Linked DNA regions of Homo sapiens: region 2 is linked to region 1. Evidence: promoter capture Hi-C in 16 types of primary human blood cells and fetal thymus (Javierre and others, 2016). All regions are on one chromosome and are shown on one strand. Each heading gives the region's core, a stretch centred on a gene start or on the middle of the fragment in contact. The rest is flanking DNA. Distances are from core to core; before and after follow the strand shown. Region 1 holds the start of USP46 (ubiquitin specific peptidase 46). Region 2 has its middle 3.3 kb from the start of DCUN1D4.

Evidence for each region. Contacts are between HindIII fragments. The CHiCAGO score rates a contact against its expected background, and 5 or more counts as called.
Region 2: a fragment that was not itself captured here is called in contact with the fragment with the promoter of USP46 in region 1 in 2 of 17 cell types (total CD8 T cells and naive CD8 T cells); the score reaches 6.4 in total CD8 T cells.

What each region holds. Positions count from the first base shown.
Region 1 is chr4:52,658,014-52,660,565 of GRCh38, reverse strand. It overlaps USP46 (ubiquitin specific peptidase 46), which reads left to right and starts at 1,265. Exons shown (of 9, transcript NM_022832.4): 1 at 1,265-1,451. The coding sequence starts at 1,416. USP46-DT (USP46 divergent transcript) reads right to left here and starts at 1,160. Exons shown (of 2, transcript NR_125363.1): 1 at 890-1,160. RefSeq lists silencers at 852-1,281, 1,292-1,811. The HindIII fragment of the contact is 3,165 bases long and covers 1-2,552 here.
Region 2 is chr4:51,838,615-51,841,166 of GRCh38, reverse strand. It overlaps a transcript of DCUN1D4 not described here. Among named protein-coding and RNA genes, the nearest start is that of DCUN1D4, 3.3 kb to the left of the region's middle. The HindIII fragment of the contact is 1,059 bases long and covers 746-1,804 here.

The DNA of each region.
Region 1 (2,552 bases), core at 16-2,515:
CTCATGTCCACTGGAAAACACAGTGACATGACTCCCAAAACCTTCAGTCAACAAGTCTGTCTTACTGTTTCCTCCCCAGATTCTAGGGATATTAGCAATCAACGGCTCTCAAATCTTTACTCTTGGTTAGATAAAAGCTATCTTCAACTAATTTTTCTTCTGATTCAATTTGTCATTAAATACACTGATCTAAGAATTTATCACGCATCTCACTTGTACAATTTCTCCTTTGAAAGCATCGAATTGCAACCTTGTATGTGTAACTGTTCCACACATTCAGAAACGGGCCCCTTCAATTCGCGTGGACCTATCTGCTAAGTGGTGCACAGACTCGCGCTCTGAGCCCGCAGCCACGACCTTTAATGCGGGAAATGTGCATGATCCCATACAGCGCCCATCTCAACAACTAGAGGCTGGGTGCACCCGAGAGGGGTATGCCTGCCTTGAAGATATGGAAAAGTTTTGTTTTCGTTCTTTCCACTCCTTGGACAGTCCCTAGTGCTTGCGCGGAACCGGGACGTCTCCTTTGGACCCGCTAATGTCACAAGCCGCCCGAGCGCGCCGCTGCTGGCCTCCGCCCAGACCCGGATTCCTCCCCCTTCCCGGCGCCCTTTCTCGGGCGCCCGGCCCGCAGCTGGCGAGGGCTCTCTGACCGCTCCGGTGTCCTCGCCCCATTTTACTTCTTGGGTCCCCGCCGGTGCCATCTGGTTGGAACCCTCGGGAGGAACTAAAAGTTGGACGTCGCCACCCCTACCCCTCGCCAAAAAATAAACACCGGGGGCTGCCGAGGCCCGCCAGGAGGAAGGCGACGAGGAAAAAGCGAGGACGGAAGGCGGCCCCGGGTTCGCCCCGGCCTGGGCCGCCCGCTTCCCCACCCCGCGCACCGTACCGTCCCCGGCTCCCTGGCTCCCCGACGGCGAGGAGGGCCGCCGCTTCCGCGTCGGGGTCGGCCGGGGGACCTGCGAGGTGCGGCTGCCGCAGCGGCGCGCCCCGGAGCCTGGCCCGGCATTCCAGTCCGAATAGAAAGAGGCAGGGAATCAAATGGAAAAGCAGGAGGCCAGGCCTGGGCGGGCGAGCTGGGAAGGAGGCGGCGCGGCGGGGCCCGGGAACCCAGCCTGGAGCGCTCTGAGCGGCCGGCTCGGACTCACGCGGCGCGCCCGGGCCGCCCCTCCTCCCCGCGCCGCCGGCCGCGGCCCAGGCTCCCTCGCTCCGCCACTCCCCGCCCCTCCGCGCTCCCTCCCCGCCCTCCCCGCGCCGCCGCCTCCTCCTCCCGGCCTCCCTCTCCCAGCCAAACTGAAAGCCGGACCCCAGGCCGCCGCGCTGCCGCCCGGCCTCCCCGCCAGCGCGCCACCATGGGCAGTCCCGGTTTCCCCTTGTAAAGATGGCGGTGAGGGATCGCTGCAACCTTTAGACTAATGACTGTCCGAAACATCGCCTCCATCTGTAATATGGTGAGTGGCCGAGCCGCCTCGGGGTCGCGCCCGACTCGCGGCGAGGCAAAGAAAGGGAAGCCCGAGCTGCACACACGCCCGGTGGCTGGGGCGGCGGGGGCGGCGGGGTCCGCGCCGCCAGAAGTTCCCGGCCCCCGAGCTGGGCGCGCGGCCGCAGCCACCTCAGCGGCCGGGGAGGGTCCCCGAGCCCCCGGCGCCCGTCTCAGCCCCGGGACCTCGGAACCCGCCCGGCGATCCCGGGGCCGCGCTGCTGCGCCCCCCGCCCTCGGGTTGCGGTGGAAGCGGCTTGAGGGAAGGGAAGCGACCGAACCTGAACGTCCCCGGGGAGGGGGTGGGGGATAAGCTGGAGGTGGGGGGCACCCATCCTCTTCTTGCGGTCAAGACAGCCTTATTGGACGTCCAGACTGCCCTCATCTCATTTTGAGTTCAGTCCTTCCGAGGTGTTTAAAATTCACTTTGCAATAGCAATTGTGTATCTGGAGAAATCGGAAATGTAATAAAGCTGTAAAAAAAGTGCAAAATTGTGGCTGGAGAAGTGAACTTCAACCTGGTTTGAAAAAGCACCGTAATTTGCTCCGCATGCCTCAGTTTCCCCATCTGTGAAAAAGGGACAAGGCTCTGTGGCGGTAATATTTGCAGGCCCTAAGGGTGGGGCGGGCTGTGGGCTTGGAGGAGGTCTCCAGGGTTATCCTGCCTGATCCGCTGTAGACCTAGGGGAGGCTGGCGGGCATGGATACAGCCAGGGACATCACTGGGTTCTGATGCAGTCCGAGCCCATGATGCGGTGGTCACTTTAATTTGGGTTTCCCCCATTGCTTTCCCTTTTTCTGTAGGAAGAACCTCCAGCCCTTGGGTCCCCAGGCTGGACCCTGCTGGCGCCTCCACTTGTCAGAGCCTTTGGGGAGCTCAGATTGGAGTAAGGCATTGCTGTCCCTTGCAGGGTGAGATGATGTGTGTTTTGCCTACATTCTTTAGACTGCACCCCGCCTCCCCTCTAGCCCCCTCCCAAGCGGGTCCCCGGAGGCAACACGTGCTCTTACAGTGCCAGTTTGAGGAAAACCTCCCTTGAAGCTAGTAATACTGGCCCCTAAAGGGAATCCA
Region 2 (2,552 bases), core at 26-2,525, 820 kb after region 1:
CTAAATTACAATAAGCCCACAATTAATTATAGCTAGTCATTTGCTCTATTAATTTATTTGCAGCATACTTTATAATAATGTGTATAAGAGTTAAGCTAGATGAAGGATGGGTCGGCTGCTTTGCCCCAGCTCCCAACACTGGCCTGGCATATGCATGGTGTCCATAAAAATTTATAGAATGTACAACCTCTGTTATTTCTCAACATTGCTTTCAGTTGAGTCAGTATGATTATTTTCAAGTAGAAAACAGACTTAGAGGTAATTTACCCAGATCTTTATAAAGAGTCAGCTATAGCCTAAGGATTGAGAGGCAAAGCTCATTCCTAGTCGGCTGACCCTCACTGCCCCCACGTTTTACAAAGTATAATAAAATGACTACATAATGCTCTGCAAATATTACCTGGTCATTTAAATAATCCACACCATATAAACCTCTGATATCAGGAAACTTGTTATAGTTATCTTTTTACTTGCCTAGCACCTAGTACAATGCTTTCAAATATTGTGGTAGGCACTGGTTAACCATACCCCTTAAAATGAATGTTTACCGTACATGAAATTTTAGATCTGGATAGGAACCTTGGTGATTATCAAATCCAACATCTTCATTTTAAAAATAAGAGACTTGACATCCAAAGGAGTTAAATGTTTAATCTGAGTCACTTGGCTAGTTGATAACAAAACAGGGCTTAAATTCAGGTTTCTCAACTCTATCCCCTGTACCACACTGTCTAATATCAAAGCTTCAAATTCCAAAGATAGGTAAACTACTCTCCCTTCCCATCTGAAAGTTACTATGCCAATCTAATACAAGTCTGCTTCATGGTTGAAATGTTGCCTTCTTTTTTATGTATTTCATTCAGGATTTTTTTCAATATGTAAATCAATACTTCACTTTTTTTTTTCTCATTTGTAGTATTCCCAAAGAACATGATCCCCATGGAGAGGTTTACTGAGATAATAATGTTATACTTCTGTACATTTATATTTGAATCCCTGGAGAAAAAAATTAATAATTGAATATCTTGGGACTGTGATGGGTAGAGATATTTGGAGATGCAGTCTTTATGCCATTTCATTTCACCCAGTTACTGCTTTAAGGTAATATTGAAGCAAGTTACTCCATGTTAATGATACCTAATTTAATTGGAATTTTTCTATTTTATTAGTCATACAATATTAATTTTAATCAGATATATTTTGAAATGCCCTAAGCCTAGATTAGAATGTGATATGGAGAAGTCTAGTAAGAGAAAAAAAACAGCAGAGCTCTTCAATCAAATGTTACGCTTTCCCCTAAATTCTGCTAAGCCCACTGTAGCATGCTTTTCCTGCATGTGTTGGGATTGGGAGTAGGAGGAAGAATAGCATAGTTCTTGAGACTGAAAATAAGTTGGGCCTGCACAGACAGATAAATGTGTCCCTGGTAAGATTTAAAGAGAATAAGAAAGAACACAGGACAGAGAGGAATTAATTTGGCCTTAGATTACAGTGAGAGAGTTGGCAGAACTCCTTTAGTAATAAAATGTCAGGCTAGGTGGGTTTCTAGTATTTGGAAATGAAAATAAACCCCCTCCGAAAGGAGAATTTATCCATAGAGGGCAGGATAGTTTTCTTTCTCCAAATATGACCAACTGAATTTGCTGTCCCAAGTGATAACAACTTCTTTCTTAATGCTTCCTATGTGACGGGCACTACTCTAATAGTACTGTACTGGTAAACTAATCTACTTAACTTCACAACAACACAGTGGAGTACTAATAACTAATAGTATCCCCAATCTACAGGTAAGTTAACTGAAGCTTCAAGAGCTTCGGTAACTTGCCACCCAGCTAATAAGTAAACGTGCCCCTAAGTAGCCAGACTCCATGTTTTTAATATTCCTGTGTTGGGCTTTAGTTTCTTTCTTTCTTTCTTCCTTTCCTTCTTTTCTTTCTTTCTTTCTTTCCTTCCCTCCTTCCTTCCTTCCTTCCTTCCTTCTCCTTTCTTCCTTCCTTCCTTCTCCTTCCTTCCTTCCTTCCTTCCCTCCCTCATTCCCTCCTTCTCTCCTTCCCTTCTTCCTTCCTTTTCTCTCTCTCTCTCTGTCTCTTTTGAGACGGAGTCTCACTCTGTCGCCCAGGCTGGAGTGCAGTGGTGGGATCTCCATTCACGGCAACCTCTGCCTCCTGGGTTCAAGTGATTCTCCTGCCTCAGCCTCTCAAGTAGCTGGGATTACAGGCACACGCCACCACACCCGACTAATTGTTGTGTTTTTAGTAGAGACGGGGTTTTGCCATGTTGGCCAGGATGGTCTCAAACTCCTGACCTCAGGTGATCTGCCCGCCTCAGTTCCCAAAGTGCTGAGATTACAGGCATGAGCCACCGCACCTGGCCAGTTCCTTCTCTTTTTAATCAGGTTAATATATGCCCCTATATACCTCAGAGATTATTTATAAGGATACAATAATATGGTTGTTAACATGCTCTCAAAAGATAGTGAAATCAGGCTGGGCATGGTGGCTCATGCCTGAAACCCCAGCACTTTCGGAGGCTGAGGTGGGTGGATCACTTGA